Linked DNA regions of Homo sapiens: regions 2, 3, 4, 5, 6 and 7 are each linked to region 1. Evidence: promoter capture Hi-C in 16 types of primary human blood cells and fetal thymus (Javierre and others, 2016). All regions are on one chromosome and are shown on one strand. The core of a region is centred on a gene start or on the middle of the fragment in contact, and the rest is flanking DNA. Distances in the headings are between cores, read along the strand shown. Region 1 holds the start of EPC2 (enhancer of polycomb 2). Region 2 has its middle 29 kb from the start of MMADHC-DT. Region 3 has its middle 6.0 kb from the start of ACVR2A. Region 4 overlaps ACVR2A (activin A receptor type 2A). Region 5 overlaps ORC4 (origin recognition complex subunit 4). Region 6 overlaps ORC4 (origin recognition complex subunit 4). Region 7 overlaps ORC4 (origin recognition complex subunit 4).

The links. The method cuts DNA at HindIII sites, captures the fragments that hold promoters and counts their contacts. A CHiCAGO score of 5 or more calls a contact.
Region 2: a fragment that was not itself captured here is called in contact with the fragment with the promoter of EPC2 in region 1 in 1 of 17 cell types (neutrophils); the score reaches 5.3 in neutrophils.
Region 3: a fragment that was not itself captured here is called in contact with the fragment with the promoter of EPC2 in region 1 in 1 of 17 cell types (fetal thymus); the score reaches 5.1 in fetal thymus.
Region 4: a contact is called between a fragment that was not itself captured here and the fragment with the promoter of EPC2 in region 1, in 7 of 17 cell types (erythroblasts, fetal thymus, naive CD8 T cells and 4 more). The highest score is 8.7, in erythroblasts.
Region 5: a contact is called between a fragment that was not itself captured here and the fragment with the promoter of EPC2 in region 1, in 6 of 17 cell types (fetal thymus, neutrophils, erythroblasts and 3 more). The highest score is 8.5, in fetal thymus.
Region 6: a contact is called between a fragment that was not itself captured here and the fragment with the promoter of EPC2 in region 1, in 3 of 17 cell types (erythroblasts, fetal thymus and megakaryocytes). The highest score is 7.7, in erythroblasts.
Region 7: a contact is called between a fragment that was not itself captured here and the fragment with the promoter of EPC2 in region 1, in 6 of 17 cell types (naive CD4 T cells, total CD8 T cells, activated CD4 T cells and 3 more). The highest score is 7.6, in naive CD4 T cells.

What each region holds. Positions count from the first base shown.
Region 1 is chr2:148,643,419-148,646,098 of GRCh38, reverse strand. EPC2 (enhancer of polycomb 2) reads right to left here and starts at 1,348. Exons shown (of 14, transcript NM_015630.4): 1 at 929-1,348. The coding sequence starts at 1,081. RefSeq lists enhancers at 25-174, 771-1,275 and silencers at 265-354, 1,115-1,694. The HindIII fragment of the contact is 14,369 bases long and covers 1-2,680 here.
Region 2 is chr2:149,556,767-149,559,446 of GRCh38, reverse strand. No RefSeq gene overlaps it. Among named protein-coding and RNA genes, the nearest start is that of MMADHC-DT, 29 kb to the left of the region's middle. The HindIII fragment of the contact is 4,195 bases long and covers 1-2,680 here.
Region 3 is chr2:147,837,695-147,840,374 of GRCh38, reverse strand. No RefSeq gene overlaps it. Among named protein-coding and RNA genes, the nearest start is that of ACVR2A, 6.0 kb to the left of the region's middle. The HindIII fragment of the contact is 1,977 bases long and covers 310-2,286 here.
Region 4 is chr2:147,929,238-147,931,917 of GRCh38, reverse strand. ACVR2A (activin A receptor type 2A) reads right to left here. Exons shown (of 11, transcript NM_001616.5): 11 at 1,096-2,680. It overlaps ORC4 (origin recognition complex subunit 4), which reads left to right. Exons shown (of 14, transcript NM_181741.4): 14 at 1-1,522. Among named protein-coding and RNA genes, the nearest start is that of ACVR2A, 86 kb to the right of the region's middle. The HindIII fragment of the contact is 328 bases long and covers 1,209-1,536 here.
Region 5 is chr2:147,952,431-147,955,110 of GRCh38, reverse strand. It overlaps ORC4 (origin recognition complex subunit 4), which reads left to right. Exons shown (of 14, transcript NM_181741.4): 8 at 2,587-2,680. Among named protein-coding and RNA genes, the nearest start is that of ORC4, 67 kb to the left of the region's middle. The HindIII fragment of the contact is 2,948 bases long and covers 1-2,680 here.
Region 6 is chr2:147,971,688-147,974,367 of GRCh38, reverse strand. It overlaps ORC4 (origin recognition complex subunit 4), which reads left to right. Exons shown (of 14, transcript NM_181741.4): 3 at 844-920; 4 at 1,539-1,629. Among named protein-coding and RNA genes, the nearest start is that of ORC4, 48 kb to the left of the region's middle. The HindIII fragment of the contact is 4,438 bases long and covers 1-2,680 here.
Region 7 is chr2:147,992,536-147,995,215 of GRCh38, reverse strand. All of the region lies in intron 1 of ORC4 (origin recognition complex subunit 4), which reads left to right. LOC105373674 (a long non-coding RNA gene) reads right to left here. Exons shown (of 5, transcript XR_007087258.1): 5 at 1,981-2,239. Among named protein-coding and RNA genes, the nearest start is that of ORC4, 27 kb to the left of the region's middle. The HindIII fragment of the contact is 3,315 bases long and covers 1-2,680 here.

The DNA of each region.
Region 1 (2,680 bases), core at 99-2,598:
TAACACCACTCGAGTCATAAACACTCTCTGTCAAGCCAGATGAAATCCAACCGTCTGCAAAATTTAACCCATCGGAGGAAAAGCAGCAATTTTCCCAAAAGGTGCTGTATTATCAAAATTACAACTGCCAATTTAGATGCACTAGGTCCTCAACTTCTAAGGACCACCTCGCAATGACAATTCTCGAGGACAACGCAACGCCGGCGGCTCGCTTCCGGGCATCCCCGGCTCCTCTCTAACGTTGCGCACGGAGCACGGCCGTCCAGGCGGAGCAGGCAGAGCCCGTCCGCCCCGCGCCCGGCTCGGGTCGGCAGAACTGGCCGGCGGGCGGCCCTCGGACGCTACGACCCGCTCGGTAGTCGTGGCCCCCGCCCTCCCCCGCCGCAGTGCTGCACCGCCTCATCCCGCTGCACCTTCGCGGGCGGGGGAGCCAGGATGATTACATTGCTGGGAGGAAGATGTTTGTTTTGAAAGCACCCTTCCACAGTCATTTCAAAGAGAACTCAATACAAAGCCAAAGTTAAAAGTGGAAAAAATAATAATCTTGCCTAGCCAAATAATACCACGCCATTAATTAGCCCCGCGCCTGAGAGAGGGAGGTGGAAAGGTAAACAGAGACCGTACGCCAAGAGCGGCCAGCGCATCCCCTGCGCCATTCCCGGCCGCCGCTTACGGCAAGGCCCCCTTACGGCAGCGTAAGCAGCGCTGCGAGCTAATCACAACACTGGGACGCAACAACATGGCGGCCGCGGGCGGGCGCTACGCCGGCCGAGAGGGTTTACGCTACTCCGCCGGCGTAGAGTCCCGTGCGTTAGAGCGGCAGCGGCGCCCTCCAGCGAGCGTAAAGCGCTCTGTGAATGGCGAGGCCCGACTGACAAAGGGGAGGGGGGAGGAGGGAAGGGGGGGTAATAAACACTCGAGTCCCTACCGATTCCTCCTCCTTCTCCATCCCGGTGGGCATCTGGGGCACGGCCCGGTTGATGGAGACGCAGTCGTTGAGATCAGGCATGTCCTTGCCGCGGTAGATAGGCAGCGGCTTGGCGGCGTCCAGCGCCCGCGCTCGGAAGGAGAGTTTACTCATTGTCTCCCCGCCTTACAGGAACAGCCCGGGCGGCGGCGGCGGGGCGGGCGGGGAGGGGGGGAGGACTCCCGCCGCCTCCTCCACCTCCTTCCTCAGTGCAGCGCGGCCGGCCCGCTCCTCCTCCTCCTCACTGCCCCCGGCCACAGCATGGGCGCCCACCCCGCCCGAAAACAGCCCCCCGCGCCCGCGGCCGCCTCCACACACTAGATCCGCCGCTCGCCCGCCCGATCCGCTCCCTGCGCCATGGCCAACATGGCGGACATTACCACAGCGGCGGCGAGCGATCCCGGCAGCCCGCGCGAGAGCGCGCCCCCGTCGCGGGAACGCGCCTCGCCCTCTCCCTCCCTCCCTCCTTCCTCTCCCTTCCCCTCCCTCGCCTGCCCACCCACTCTCTCCGCGGCGCTGCCGGCCCGCGGGAGCGTGCTCGGTCTCGGTCCGCTCCGGGGAGAGGGGGCGGGGGCGGCGCCCCTCCGCTCGCTGGCCGGTGCTTTCGCTGTGTGGCAGGTGCCAGGTGCGCAAGTTCGCCCGCGCCCGGGAGCGTGCGCCTCTCCCGCCGCCGCCCGGTCACCCCTCTCGCTGGGTGTCCCGGAGGAAGGCGCCGGGCAAAGACGGCTGCGCCGAGCAGCGCGTGTGTGCAGAAGTCCGGGAGCGGGAAGGGAAAATGTCGACCCGGACCCCACCAGCCATCACCCAAGCCTGTACTTGGACAGCGCTATCCCCAAGGCGCCCTGTGCGCAAGCTAATTCGCATCCTCCGAGGCGCACATCCCCGAGAGGTGCAAGAGGTCTCTCCCATCAGTCCCATCAGTCCGTTCGGAGGACTGGACCGCGCTGCTGGTGCCAGCCCTCTTCTACGCCCTCCCCTCCGTACCTGTCCGAAAGAGCTCTCCAAGGTGCAGCAGCGCGTTCATCCTCGCTTTGCAGTGAGGGTTCATGGTTTGAGGCTGCCAGATGCAACAAGTGAACTTAGGTTCCCTGTCACCCAAACTTCGGTACAGCTGTTTAGTGGATGGTAGGTATTTTTCTGAGTTCAAAAATAGTAGCTTTCCTAAAAGTTCAGCTTCTAAAAATTTAGCCAAGGCAGCACACATTTGCGAAGTAGCAGATGTGTGTCAAATGTGGGGTGCTGTGGAAGACTCGAAGAAATCTGAGAAAAGGTTCCTGCCTCAGAGAGCTTTCACCTTAATGGGATGCCAGGATGGCTGGAAAGATGAGTAACAGAGACGTAAATAGTTGAAGAAAATGACAGCTGGAAAGATAAGTGACAACCGAAAAAAAAGTGTAAATATTTTAAGAAAACAATACAAGAGATGACACAGGCAGTAAGTAGCACATGATTAATTACCAAACGAGATCTAGGCAATAATTGTGAGAGTTCAGAGAAAGGAAAGGAGGCATGACTGCAGCCTAAACTGGTTAGAGAAAGTTCTCAAGAGGAGGGAAAATCAAGGTGACTCAAATAAGTACTAGCTATTGTTGACATCAACCTGGTTTAGCCAAGAGGCTCTTGGTTAGTCTTTAAGCATTACACATTTCTCACAAAACCGTACAAAGAGAGTTTTTAACACATTTTACCATTTTCTAATAATCGATCATACTC
Region 2 (2,680 bases), core at 94-2,593, 910 kb before region 1:
TGAGAAATTTCTATTACAGTTCAAGAGGGGGATTAGGGGTGCCGACCACCCCAACCCCAGGCTGAGTCAAAAATCCACATATAACTTTTGACTCCCCAGAAACTGAACTACTGACAGCCTACTGTTGACTGGAAGCCTTGTTGGCAACATGAGTAGTTAACATATTTTGTATGTTAAATGTATTACATTCTGAATTTTTTTTTTCCTTGGGCTGGAGTGCAGTGGCGCGATCTCAGCTCACTGCAAGCTCCGCCTCCTGGGTTCACGCCATTCTCCTGCCTCAGCCTCCTGGGTTCACGCCATTCTCCTGCCTCAGCCTCCTGAGGAGCTCGGACTACAGGCACTTGCCACCACGCCCGGCTACTTTTTGTATTTTTAGTAGAGACGGGGTTTCACCATGTTAGCCAGGATAGTCTCGATCTCCTGACCTCGTGATCCGCCGCCTAGGCCTCCCAAAGTGCTGGGAAATAAACTAGAGAAAAGAAAATGTTAAAAAAAAAATCATGAAGAAGAGAAAATATATTTACTCTTTATTAAGTGGAAGGGGCTCCTCATGAAGGTCTTCATCCTCATTGTCTTCATGTTGAGAAGGCTGAGGAGGAGGAGGTAGAGGAGGGATTGTTCTTGCTGTCTCAGGGGTGGCAGAGGCAGAAGGAAATCTGAATATGAGTGGACCCGGGCAGTTCAAACCCAAATTGTTCAAGTTTACCTCTAACTATAAATTACCCAGTTTGTGGTATTCTGTCAAACCAGCCCAAACGGACTAACACGGTATAAAAATAATTAAATCATTTAAAATTTTATGATTCACAGAGGTTTTCTCAAACTCTACACCTTTCCTTTGCTTTTTACTTAATCATATCCAATATACGTCCACTCTGAATTAGTAAAGTTTGACGTTTGATGCTGACATACTTCATGTCTGCTCCAAGTCGTAGAGCTTATGGCATGTCTAGAGACTCTTGGAGGAGAGGAAATCTCAGCTGGCCCTTGAAAGGCAGGCGGGATTTGAATAGTGAGCAGAGGATATTCCAGGAGCTAAAACATGAGACTAACACAAGAGAGTGGACTGGTTTACCTAGAGTTTCCTTGACTGCAAGGACTTGGGAAATGAGGCTAGAAAGACACCTTGGGGCTAGATTGAAGGAATTTTTAGTTCCAGAATAAGGAATTCACCGATATGCTATAGCATTAAACATTGAAGGTTTTCAAGCAGAAGAATAATTCGATTAAATCAACTTTTGGAAAGATAGATCTCCTGGTGGTATAGGATATAAACTGTAGGCAAAAAGTAACTGGCAACAAAAAGACTACTGTTGTAATGGGGTAACTCAAAGGTAATAGAGGCCTAAATTAGGGTGGTGGCCGTAAGAATGAAATAAATATTCCAAAGTAGAAATTAAAGCAGGAACTGACTGCTCCCTAGGTCTTGCTGTCCAATCCCACTTCCAGCAATCCAAACAAAAGACTGCAGTTTTCAACATGGATGACTAAAAGAATAATAATAATAATAGCACTGGTAATAATAGTAACAAGCCAACATTTTCATCGTGCTTACTGTGCCCAGCACTTAGCTAAGTGCTTTATACATAATGCATATAATCTTCATAACAACCCCATGAAATAAGTATTATTATTCCCATTTCATGGATCAGAAACCTGAAGCAGAGAGAGGCCAGGTGATGAGTTTAAAGTCGCATGGATATTGAATGGCAGAGCCAGGACTGGAACACAAGCAATTGGGCCTTGGACCCTAATGCCTAGCCTGGTGGTCTCACTACCAAGTACTAGTTTGCAGCATATAGCCCTCTTACATTTATGTGGTAAAGTTAAAATGGTGGTGAATATCTGCATATACTTAGAGTTGGGAACCTAGAATTCAGAGAGTAGTCAGGATAGAGGATGTAAAGTTGAATGACAAGCATACCTCACTCAACTTGAATATTTGAAACTCCATTATTGCATTTGATGATAGAATTTAACCCACCGATCTTCCACAGCTCAGGAGAGAGGGTGTGGTAGGGGTGGGATCAAAACAATAAAGATTTTCAGACCCATTGGAAAGAGTTTTGACAGGCTTTGTCATCATACCTCTCAGCAGTTATGCTCTGCTTATCTTTTGTTCTCTGATGTATGCTAATAATTTGCTACGTGATCATGTACTATTTTAATTTCCATTTGGTTCTAGGAAATCAAGTCGCTTATAATATTTTCATGCTCATTCTTATGTTCCAACCTTTAACAACTGTTTTAGGATTCTGAAATTTCTCAACATTACAACATGCATGAAATATCATGACTAGTTCAGTTATCCAGATACTCATCCAAAATCAAAGGACTGTACAGCATCGTGGTTAAGAGACTGGGGTTTGGAAAAAAACTCCTGAGTCTGGATCTCAGTTGTGCTATTTACAAGTTTTCTGACCTTGGGCAAGTTCCACTTCTGTTAATACCCATCTCATGAGAAGATTTAAGGTTTAGGAGGGATGACATATGCAAGCCATTTCTTACTATTCCTGTGGAAGAGGTCAGTAAATTTTAGCTGTTCTTATTATCTGACCTCTGAATGTGTACAAATTTTGTGGACAACTAAACAGTAAAAATTACCCCCAAATATATTTTCCTAAAATTATAATACAAACATCTTCAAGAGGACATGTATTTGGCAGAACACTTTAGT
Region 3 (2,680 bases), core at 49-2,548, 810 kb after region 1:
TGTAGAGACGGCGTTTTGCCATATTGCCCAGGCTGGTCTTGAACTCCTGAGCTCAAGTGATCTGCCTACCTCGGCCTCCCAAAGTGCTCAGATTATAGGTGTGAGCCACTGTGCCCGGCCTCAAGTTCTTAGTAATTCAATTTTATTGTACTTTGACTTCACAAAGGTCTCACAGATTGGAAATTCATCATAGAGGATCTAAGAATGGATTTCCTACTGGAGTAGAAAGCAGACTATATACACAATTCTTTCTCAAAAAAAAATGGCCTTCATCCATTTTGACAAGTGCTTAAAATCTCGAATAAAGCTTTGATGTTATAGTCCTGAAATTTTCTATAATACAAGTCCACATAAGGGTCAGTCATTTTCATTACACTCTCTGTGGCATTCATCTATTCAACAAGTAATTATCAGATACAGAATTTGTGCTAGATTTTGGTTGTACAAGTGTCGAATGAAATGGATATAGTCTCCACCATCACTGAGCTGACAGTATCACGAAGAAGACAGGAAAACAGCCAGTAAACAAGTAATTCCCAAATGGAAAGGATTATTTATAAAAGCAGACAGAATGCTAAGATAAAGAGCAATGGGATAGTATAGGAAGAGGGGAACTATTTAGAGAAAATGATTCAGGAAGGACTTACAAAGGATGTGACATTTCAACTGAAACCTGGAAGATGAAAAGGAGATAACCATGAAAGAAGCTAGTGAAGAAGAAACAGTACAGATGATGTATTTAAGAAACTGAAAGAAGGCTCTCATGGCAATTAGGAGAGTAGTATGAATAAGGAGAGAGAGGAAAATAGGCTCCAGTCCATGCAACAGCCTATGGACCAAAGTAAGGTCCTTGGATTTTATTCAAAGTGAAGTAGCAATCCATTGGAGGGTTTTAAGTCAGGGAGTTGTGTGGTCTGGCTTATGTTTAGTAGATCACTCTGGCTGTTACATGAAGAACGAGTTGCAAGAGGTTACCAAAGCAAGCGGAGAAATTAGTTAGAAGGGCATTATAGTAAGTCAGACATGAGACGATAATATTGTAAACTAATACAGAAGGAAGTGGGCAGATTTAAGATATATTCTGGAAGACATGCTGATGGATTGGATGACTCCTACTTTTTTTCTTGAGCAAATGAGTAGAGGTCATGTCATTTATTGATATGGGGAAGATTTAAAGGGAAGAGATATTATAGGGCAGAAATTGGAAAGATGAATAGTGAAAATACTTAGTTTTAAAAATGTTATATTTAAGATGCCTGTGAGACACTCAAATGGAGATAGTGTAACATAAGCAAGTGGATCTACGTGACTGAAGTTTGGAGCAACATGCAATGCTACAGATATAAATCTGGGAGTTGTCACCATGCAAATGGTATTTAAGGCCATAGAAATGAATGAGAGTATCTAAATAGGGAGGAGAGAGAGAGAGAAGAATAAATGTAGCAATCAAGTGGAGGATTAAAAGCCAGGAAAGGGGATAAAGAAGTGGCAGGCAGAGATTAAATAAAAACCAGGGGCGACGGATGTCACATGTGGGCGTGTTTCACAAAAGGAAGATAGGGTCAGTGTTGAATCCGATAGAGACATACAGCAAAATGAAAAACAAAAATGTAAGCCATTGGATGTGGCATCATAGAAGGAATTAACATCCTTGAAAGTAGTTTTAGCAGAAGCTAGATGGAAATATTTGAAGTCAATGGTAAATGAAAATTTAGAAACATCAAAAATAACAAAGCCTTGGCCCGGCGCAGTGGCTCATGCCTGTAATCCCAGCACTTTGGGAACCTAAGGTGGGCAGATCACCTGAGGTTGGGAGTTCAAGACCAGCCTGGCCAACATGGCGAAACCCTGTCTCTACTAAAAATACAAAAATTAGCCAGGCGTGGCAGTGCGTGCCTGAAGTCCCAGCTACTCAGGAGGCTGAGACACAAGAATTGCTTGAACCTGGGAGGCGGAGGCTGCAGTGACCTGAGATCGCACCACTGCACTCCAGCCTGGACGATAGTGCAAGACTCAGTCTCAAAAATAAATAAATAAAAACAAAATACAAAAATAACAAAGCCTTAAAGACATTTGGCTATTTAAAAAAATCAAATAAATGGGGTGGTGGCTAAAGGGAAATGCACAATCAAGAGAGGATTTTATTTTGTTTCTCTTTTCAGAGGAGACATCATAAATTATATATGTAAACTCATAGGTATGGTGCCATAGGAGGAAAGATTGAAAATGCAGAAGAAAGGAAAACTGAATGGGCAAAATACTTGTGAAGGCAAGAAAGGACAAGCTTCAGAACATGAGAGAGTTAGGTTGGCCTTTGAGAAGAGAGTGGTTGTTCTCTTCCTCTTCCTCTTCTTCCTCCTCCTCCTCCTTTTGAGGCAGGAAGGGCAAGCAGAAGCAGATGAGTTTGCAGAAGCAGATGAGTTTACAGAACCGAACATTGGAGCATAATGGCAATCCCAGCTGAGGGCTCTTCTTTTCTCTGACATGTAAAGCAAGGTTTTCACCTTAAAGTGAAAGGGGCATGATGAAAAGGTATGAAAGAGTCCTAAGTGAGACTGGAGAGAGAGGCTTTATAGTGGAATTGCCAGGGTTGAGTGCCCATTTGAGATTGGTGACTCCAGTCTACCCAGCTGTGTGATTATTTTCTGCAACGTAGAGGTGTTGGCAGGCACGGAGAAGG
Region 4 (2,680 bases), core at 123-2,622, 710 kb after region 1:
GAGAGAGGGCATCCCTGTCTTGTGCCAGTTTTCAAAGGGAATGCTTCCAGTTTTTGCCCATTCAGTATGATATTGGCTGTGGGTTTGTCATAGATAGCTCTTATTATTTTGAAATACACCCCATCAATCCCTAATTTATTGAGAGTTTTTAGCATGAAGGGTTGTTGAATTTTGTCAAAGGCTTTTTCTGCATCTATTGAGATAATCATGTGTTTTTTGTCTTTGGCTCTGTTTATATGCTGGATTACATTCATTGATTTGCGTATATTGAACCAGCCTTGCATCCCAGGGATGAAGCCCACTTGATCATGGTGGATAAGCTTTTTGATGTGCTGCTGGATTCGTTTTGCCAGTATTTTATCCAGTTAGAATGGCAATCATTAAAAAGTCAGGAAACAACAGGTGCTGGAGAGGATGTGGAGAAATAGGAACACTTTCACACTGTTGGTGGGACTGTAAACTAGTTCAACCATTGTGGAAGTCAGTGTGGCGATTCCTCAGGGATCTAGAACTGGAAACACCATTTGACCCAGCCATCCCATTACTGGGTATATACCCAAAGGACTATAAATCATGCTGCTATAAAGACACATGCACACGTATGTTTATTGTGGCATTATTCACAATAGCAAAGACTTGGAACCAACCCAAATGTCCAACAATGATAGACTGGATTAAGAAAACGTGGCACATATACACCATGGAATACTATGCAGCCATAAAAAATGATGAGTTCATGTCCTTTGTAGGGACATGGATGAAATTGGAAATCATCATTCTCAGTAAACTATCACAAGAACAAAAAACCAAACACCGCATATTCTCACTCATAGGTGGGAATTGAACAATGAGATCACATGGACACAGGAAGGGGAATATCACACTCTGGGGACTGTTGTGGGGTGGGGGGATGGGGGAGGGATAGCATTAGGAGATATACCTAATGCTAGATGACGAGTTAGTGGGTGCAGCGCACCAGCATGGCACATGTATACCTATGTAACTAACCTGCACAATGTGCACATGTACCCTAAAACTTAAAGTATAAAAAAAAAAAAAAACATAGCTAAAGAAAAACTGCATATGCAAATCATACCGTATTCATTTTTTTATTTAACTTGGGGATGGAATGGGGATAGCATACATTTTATTTGTACAATATTTAACAATCACTTATCCAAGGTGGGGTTTTATGGGGATTTTAAGCTTTCTGTTAAATACTTGCAGAAAAAATAGCAAGTACGATTTGACAGTAGTACAATAACCTGTGCCCAAAACACAAGAAATACAGAGTAAAGCGAAAATAACTGCTTACCAATATTCTGAGAGGTAACAAATGGGATATGGGTTGAGACTGCATAAAAAACGTACTGCTGGTTGAATATCTGAGGTAAATGATGTTCAATCAAGATGCTACTTGTATCATTTTGCCCATAAATGGATAAATAATTTTATGCATATCATACCAAATGTTCCTAAAAAGTAATCTTTCAAAAAAGTATAAAAGAGAAACTGGAAAGTATCTGTGATGAAGCTTCTTTCTTTAAAAAAAAAAAAAAAAACAAAAAAACCAGTAATCAGTTTATTCCACTAAACCACCATCTCGCCATGGTTTTTTTTCCCCTACCACCTGCATTTTACTTAAATGTAGCTGTTACTTAGGGGTGAGGAAATGCAACAGAAGAGATTCTTTTTAAATTTCATGATATGATTCTATTTTAAATTCCAAAGGTGTTGGGTTTTTTCCTGATTGTATTTTCAAAACATCACCATGAAAGATAGATAGTGCAAGTTCATGGGACTAACAATCGTGAAGCACAGTCTCTTTTTCTGGAATTCACAAGGTACCTAGAATTCAAACAAGAATCACACATCACATGCTAAAAAAACTTCTAGCATCTAAAATACATACAAGAGCTGTGCAGGGCATAGACTTCAAATAAAGCCGAACACTGGTTAATCCATCAGTCCTATGGCAAGTTGATCATAAAGCATTCCTTACGCGGAGATCTGGGCAAGGTAAAGAGTATAAGTTAGAGCAGCAGCAGTTCTGATGGGTATCAGAAAGGCAAAATACAAGACGAGTCATGAGGAGCACCATACACATGAGGAAAGAGTTATTTGGGGGGTCTCAGTTTGCCCCAAAATGGATCACCATTTTTCTCATTCTTTGATCTTTTTTTTTTCCAGTATCTCTAGCTCAAACTTTCTGTTAACTTGCCCACTCTGCACTGACTGTAAACCAAACACTAAATACCCTGCAAAAGAAAGTTTTAACAAGACTAGGTATAAGGACAGGTAGTCACTGGAACATTCTTATTTTACTGCTTATAAAAAGTTTTTCTATTAATAATAGTTCTCAAAAGAATACAAGTTTTAAAATTGGTTAGCTACAGTTAAATACAATACCCAGGATTTCTAAAAATTTTTTCTAACTTGAAAACATTTTATATTGTGAATAACTGGGTTTAAAAATTTTATCTCTAGTACTCACATAAGCCAAACATTCATCATAATATCCCTTGTTTATTTTTGTTTAACTTTTAAAAAGAAAGTTAAATGTTCACAACAGGTAGAAATTCATCTTCAGGAAATTAATGATTTTCTTGTATGCACATTCTCAATATTTTCCCTTCTTGATTAGTTTTTAAATGGAAGCAAAACCAGATCAAGAAATTGA
Region 5 (2,680 bases), core at 69-2,568, 690 kb after region 1:
ATAGAGATAAATGTGATTTTTTACAACAATAAAATTATTTTACCTATTTTGTAATAAGATTTTGATCTGCATCATCATTTTTATGGTTCTTGTTTTATAAGGTGCTATTTATTAATCACCAATTATGGGCTTTTGTTTCTAATTTTTTATAATTAAGAAGAGATACTTTGATGATCATCCAGATATTTCCTGGGATAAATTTCTGTGGGTAGAATTCTGGGTTAAAAGGCACCATCTTTAACATTTAAAAACTACCCTAAAGGTTTAATTTGTAAAAATATTTGATAATACCTTTTTCTTCACAACCTCAAAAACAATTATTATTTTTATGTTTGCCCATATAATAGAAAAACTTTCAGCTCTTAGTTTAATTTGAATAATTTTGTTCTTTAATTTGCATAATTCTGGTTACTTAATTTGCATAATTCTGATAGTGGTGATGCTTGTCATTTCATATTTTTATTGACCTTTGAAATTTCCTGGTTTATGTACAGTCATGTGCCACATAACAACCTTTAATTCAATGATAGACCACATATGTGACAGTGGTCCTATTAGATTATAAAACCATATTTTTACTGTACCTTTCCTGTGTTTAGATATGTTTAGATACACAAATACTTCGCATTGTGTTACAGTTGTCTACACTATCACATGCTCATAGGTTCATAGCCTAGGAGCAATAGGCTATGCCATATAGCCTAGGTGTCTAGTAGGCTATACCATCTAGGCTTGGGTAAGTACACTGTTAGGATGCTTGTACAACGATGCAGTCACCTAACAATACATTTCTCAGAACGTATCTCTGTCATTAAGGGACACACGACTGTATTTCCTGTTGGGTCTTTGACCTATTGTGGTAATGTTTATGTTATGCTTATTTATCGGAATTTTTGTGTTTTATTTTTCTCTTCCCTTAAGTTTGGTTTGGACTTTTCTGCTGATCTAAAGTTTTATGTTTTCCACATAGTTAAGTTTATCTAGAAAGTTTTTTCTCTCCTTCAGATTATAAAAACATTCATTGATCCATCTTTTTATTTAATATATATATATATTTGTAATTTATAATTTGTTTGGAATTTATTCTGATTTTACCTGTAAAGTAGGGATCTGACTTTGAATAGACTAATTTTCCCCACTGATGTATAATGCAATATTTTATCAAATACTAAAATTCTATATTAGTACATAAGTCTCTTTCTAGACTTTTGAGTAATCCCTTTGGTTTTGTACCAGTATTAAGTCATTTAGGCTACTGTATTTGTTATTTGTTGAAATAAGTCTTTCTTTTATCAGATATTTGTTTCACTTTTTAACACAAATATAAAGGCGTTAAGCCTAAGGTAAAAGGGATTCTTTTACTAAAGTTGTTTCCATTATTGAAGTGAGAAAAATGTAACCAGAGGGTGATGTGGAACTTTCCCCATGAAAAGCATTGTAGTTGAAATGCTAAAAGTTGTGCTTCAAGGGAGTTTAAGTGGCTTTAGTTGAACTTTATAATCTACAAGTTTGTTTATAAAAAGTATTTCTACAAGAAATGTACCTTGTATTTCTACTAAATAAACAACTCTCTTTTAAAGCATTAGTTTTGTTCATTAATTAGTGACTCCCCTTATATTTTAATCTTAAAGTGTTTTGGTTCTGTGTAGGTATAGAAAACTCTGTCAATTTTATAATCATTAAATAAGAATTATATTTACGTAATTATAAAAATAATAGTCTTTAGTCATTTAAATGATTTTTGACATTTTTCAACAACAAACTCTACTAGAGTCTAGGAACTAGACTGCACTTTTTATTTTTTGGAGATGGAGTTTCACTCTTGTTGCCCAGGCTAGAATACAATGGTGTGATCTCAGCTCACTGCAACCTCTGCCTCCGCAGTTCAAGAGATTCTCCTGCCTCAGCCTCCCAAGTAGCTAATTTTTTTTTTTTTTTTTAATAGCAGAGATGGGGTTTTACCATGTTGGCCAGGCTGGTCTCAAACCCCTGACCTTAGGTGATCCACCTACCTCGGCCTCCCAAAGTGCTGGGATTACAAGCGTGAGTCACCATGCCCGGCCTAGACTGAACTTTTTTTTTTTGAGATGGAGTTTCACTCTCGTTGCCCAGGCTGGAGTGCAGTGGCACGATCTTGGCTCACCACAACCTCTGCCTCCTGGGTTCAAGCAATTCTCCTGCCTCAGCCTCCCGAGTAGCTGGGATTACAGGCATGCGCCACCACACCTGACTAATTTTGTATTTTTAGTAGAGATGGGATTTCTCCATGTTTGTCAGGCTGGTCTCGAACTCCCGACCTCAGGTGATCCACCCACCTCAGCCTCCCAAAGTGCTGGGATTACAGGCATGAGCCACCACGCCCAGCCTAGACTGAACTTCTTGAGAGCAGTCGGGGCTGTGTTTGTCCTTTGAATAATTTTTTTCTGTTGAATGAACGTATATGCATCAGTAAATCCCCTACCCAAAGTAGGCTATCAGAATGTTTACAGAATTGAGTTTTAAAAACTGAAATATAGTAAATGGTTTGGAAATTTAGGAAAGGTGGATATAATTTCTTATTAATGTAATGCTCTTATTTTATCTTAGGTGACCGAACTAGCAGTTGCCCAGTGATCTTCATATTAGATGAATTTGATCTTTTTGCTCATCATAAAAACCAAACACTTCTCTATAATCTTTT
Region 6 (2,680 bases), core at 124-2,623, 670 kb after region 1:
GCCACAGCGGCCAGCCCCCTTTTTTAATCTTTCAAACAGGCCTGCCATAAGATGTTATTGTCCCTATTTTATAGATACAGAAATTAAAATTTAGAACAGACTTAACCTTTTAAAATTCATATAATAGACTCTTCTGGAGCCAATGTCCTTACTCTTTAACTTCCTCGATAATGAACAAGTATGTATTGTTTTGTCCCTAATGAATCATTTTCTTTGCTTTGCCTCTGTACATGGAACAAGAACTCAGATTTACTTCTTTGGTACATGAAGGATTAGTTCCATGCTGTCAGTCTAGGAGAAGCAAATATTCTTGGAGCCTTTTTATTCCAGTTCATGGGGCCAAATCTGAGATAGCACCCTCAGGTTGTTGTCCTTGAAAGACCTCTGTATTAGCTGCAGATCCAAAAAAGGAACGACTTTAATGGTCCATCTTTTTAAAGAGTATGGTAGATTATCTGACATAATTTTTCATGACTAAGTCTAAGGCCTTAGTTCTAAGATGACCTCAAAATATAGCTGCTTACAAGAATTCTTTTCTTAACTCGTTCACATGCATTACAATGGCCCTTAAGTTGCTAATATAGCTAAAGTCAGTGATTCTCCCTCTTGTTGAAACCTTCACAACTAAATTCTCATTCTTCCTATGGGACTTGAGATAGGTAAGAAATCCATTAATTTTTTAACATATGAAAATGGTGCCAGAACTCTAGAGGATAAGAATTTAGGGAGGGTTGAATTGATTCATTAATACCTAATTCTGACTATTGTAAATGTGCTTTCTTATTTATTTTTTATATCATGTGTAATATTTTTATTTATATTTATTCACTTTATTTTCATCAGGTACAAAGAATTTTACGTGAAAGATTTTGTCGTCAGAGTCCACATAGTAACCTATTTGGAGTGCAAGTACAATACAAGTAAGTCTAGCTGTCCTCTTGACTGTTATGGACCTACTTACAGATGCCTTCCAGGTTTTGCAAAAATTATTGTACAAATTTGATATTAAATAAAGCTAACAAACACTTTTATAGAAATAAAAAATTTTGCTTTGTGAATAGAAACACCACATAGCATGAAGCAGGAGCAGATACAAATATTTCCATAATGCAATAGCACTTTAACTTTCAATTTTGTTTTGTTTCTGTTATCTGATACTGTGGAGAGAATTCTAGCCATCTTGCCCTTAATACCCAGCAGCCAGCTATGGAGTAAAAGTCCAGAGTATTAGTAGGAAAAGAGATTTGAATCCAAGGGTCCCGAGAGTTGCCACTATTGTCCCTTGTCCCCTACTATCGTATAAATCAATATATTCCAATCTGACTACGTTTTCACCTGAAGATTTCAGAGAATCAATACTGCCCTACTATTTCTTTTGTATTTTTCTATTTAGGACCATTCAGAAGCTAGGCCAAGTACCCAGAGGGAGAGAAGAGAGGAAATTTCTGTGCATATTCAAATATGCCTTTTAAAAACTACAACATAACAAAGTATTCCAGCTTCATTTTTAAAATTTTGTCCTATTTATATCATTTTAGACACTTAAGTGAGCTGCTGAAAAGAACTGCTCTCCATGGAGAGAGTAACTCTGTCCTTATTATCGGACCCCGAGGATCAGGAAAAACTATGGTAAAAGCTGTTGATTTCTGGTGTTTGTTGGCATGTGATGATTCTTATTTTATATAAGAATAAATAAATTCATATATAAATCTTATTTTATGTAATACTGAAAATACTTTTCATTATTTTGTAATGTTTTACTTTTTTGTTTTTTTCTTTTTTAATCACAGAAGACATGTAAAACTTTATAAACTTAGGGTGGTATATTTGAGTGTAGCAGACCTTTTTCCCCCTTATTTGTCCTCCTAGTGAAAAATTGTCAATTGATGTTTGTTCCAACATGGTCTTTTGTCCTTAAAGAAGTAGAGATTTCCAGTGGAAAAAGAAAATAGCATGTATTGAGCATGTACTATGTGTCTTTTTATTGTGTTCTCTCATTTATTCTTTACATCAACACTGCACGGTAGGGTTTTTCCCTTTGTTATAGGTTAGGGAACTATCATATCATGCATTCTTTTTATTTTTCCTACATCATTACTATTTGTTTAACCCTAACTTACACAGTTTTTCAGTGCATGCTCACATCTTATATCATTCTTGTCTCCTTTTGCTCTTTATCATATTTGCTTAGTTACCTCAAAAAGATATTCTTACTTATTTCCCTTTACTCTTTTCTTTGATATCCTTTATGCAATATAGGAGACAAATTATGGGTGTTAACTTTTGAAAGCAATTAATTTCAATGCTAAGTAGTCTGTGTAAAATCTGTTCTCATGTATTATATACAATAAATTTCAATTTTTGACCAATGTACTTTAAAAAAATGGATGAGAAGCAAAATTTTTTTTAACATTTAAGCAATGTATATTGAAATTACATTATTAAGATGAGTACGTTAGGATTTTACTGTTATCACATCTGAAGTATTGTTTAATATAAATTGAGAATTTAGATCTAGGTAATTTCTTTCAATATTTCACAAATTGTCACATTTATATATAATCATATTTGCAGTAATTTTTTAGTTTCAAATCTATGTTTAATTTGTTTTAGTCCTCATACTCAGCTTCTATAATCACTATTTCTTCATTCTTGAGTTTTTTATTATGGTTTTTCTTTG
Region 7 (2,680 bases), core at 128-2,627, 650 kb after region 1:
TTTTTATAGAGTGCTGATTGGTGCATTTACAATCCTTTAGCTAGACACAGAATGCTGAGTGGTGCATTTTTACAGAGTGCTGATTGGTGCATTTACAGTCCTTTAGACACAGAGCGCTGATTGGTGCGTTTTTATAGAGTGCTGATTGGTGCATTTACAATCCTTTAATCCACAGAGCGCTGAGTGGTGCGTTTTTTTATTGAGTGCTGATTGGTGCATTTACAGTCCTCTAGCTAGACAGAAAAGTTGTCCAAGTCCCCACTCGACCCAGGAAGTCCAGCTGGCTTCACCTGTCACCAAGTAGCTGGGATTACAGGAGCCTGCCACAATGCCCAGCTAATTTTTGTATTTTTAGTAGAGACAGGGTTTCACCATGTTGGTCGGGCTGGTTTCGAACTCCTGACCTCAGGTGATCCACCTGCCTTGGTGTCCCAGAGTGCTGGGATTAGAGGCGTGAGCCACTGTGCTCGGCCATTTTTGGAGTTTTATAGTTTTGCATTTTATATTTAGGTCTGTGATCCATTTTTAGATTTTTTGTGTGTGAAACTTGTAAGGTCTGTGTCAATTCATGTTTTGGCATGTGTATGTCTAGTTTTTCCATTACCATTTGTTGCAAAGATTGTTCTTTTCTCCATTGAATTGCCTTTGCTTATTCGTAAAAGACCAGCTGACTATGTTTATGTGGGCCTATTTCTGGGCTCTGTTTTGTTCCCTTGATTTGTCTGTTCTTTCACCATTATCACACTGTATTGATTAGTATAGTTTTATAATGTCTTGAAGTTGGGTAGGTTTTGTCCTCCAACTTTGTTCTCCTTCGGTATCGTGTTGGTTCTCCTGGGTCTTTCTGTGTATACTTTAAAATCAGTTTGTCATATCCACAAAATAACTATCCAGAATTTTGATTGGGATTGCATTGAATTTATAGATCAAGGTTGGAAGAACTGACATTTAACAATACGAATTTTTTTCTACTCTTGAATGATCTCATTTATTTAGACTTTCTTTGATTTCTTGAATCAGAGTTTTATAGTGATCCTCATAGAGATCTTGTACATATTTTGTTAGATTTATATCTACATTTTTGGTGAATGTTTTTTGTTGTTGTTGCTAATGTATATGGTATTATTTTAATTTCTAATTTCAGTTGTTCATTACTGATACATAGGAAGGAAGTTGACAATTTGTATATTAACCTTGTATCCTGCAACCTTTCTACAGTAGTTTATTAGTTCCAGTGATTTTGTTGTTATTTTGGGATTTTCTACGTGCATAATCATAGCATACTATTGGGACAAAGAATGATGAGAAAAGGTATATAAAGAATGATAAAAATATAATAAAACAGTGTATTTGAGCCTATTTCTTCATAGTTGATCATCAATTATTGTCCCATTGATAGCCTTTTAACTTTGGGGAGTAAAAGGGATTGCAGAAAAGGATGAAGGTAGGGTACCAAAGTTCTAAGCCATATAATGCTGTCTTTTTTAAGCCCCCAACCCCCTAATTTTTAGCTCTCCTTTTCCCACCCAAAAAGCACAACTGTCTAAAAATCCTATTTCATTGTAAATGTCAACTGACATTTCCATTTATCCTTGCAAGATTACCTAAGCATGCTGATGGGGGGATGGACAACATATTCATTAGCAAAACAGAATTGGAGAATATCGTTTCGTTGACTCTAGAATTTAGTCTCCTGTGCTTTTTGCATAAGCTGAAGGGTCTCATTAGAAACAATGTATTATTCCTAAAAGTTTTTAGGGAAAATTTTAAGATTTTTCTAGGATAATTTCTAGGGTAATTTCTAGCAATTCTTAAATAATTTATCTCTAAAGCAATGTTATTTTCAGTTTTTTTTCCTTCCAAAAATAGTTTAATATTTACTAATTAACTTACTGGAGTTGTAGCATATTGTAGGGGCCAAGAAAAAACTTCCCTTTCAGCCTCTGAAGGTTCTTTGAAAATCAGCTGAAAAAAGGCAGATTAATAGGAGAAAGGGCATATGATTTTATTTGATCTTGGTGTTACGTGACATGGGAGCCTTCAGAATAAAGACCTAAAGATATAGGAGAAAACTGCCCATTGGTATGCTTAGGTTCAGCAAAGTCTGGACAGCCATATACTGAGTGGGGAAACCCAGCAAGGCCTGCCTGTCTGTATAGATTCTTCTTGGCCTCTCTGTGCAGCATTCTTTCCTTCCGGGTATGGAACAGCACCCTTTCTGGAATGGGGATCCTATGACCTACAATCAAACAGAATAGGTCAGATATGTCTTTATAGTTAGTTTTTACACAGAAAGATGAGGGCAGGGAACATTAGAGTAATATATTTAGGTTCTGTGGCTGGCTTTGGGGAAAGGGAGTTCTGGTTTCTGTGGACTACCTTGGGGACGAGGGATGGTAGTTTCAGTGGCTAGCCTCAGGAGAATGAGAGGCCAGAGACAGGAAGTTAGGAGATGGTCAGAGAGAGCTGCTTTGGAGGACTTTATTTTGGAGTATCATTTCCTTAGCCCTAGCAGTATCATACTTACATTTAAGTAAACTCAAGTCTGTAAACGTGGCAAAGGAAAAATTTATTTGAATAGTGGACAGTATTCTATTCATTATTCTTCTCAAATGAACATATACCCTGAAGTAATTGATATTGCAAGAAAGTACAGTTCTGTAATTTATGTGTAGTTTGG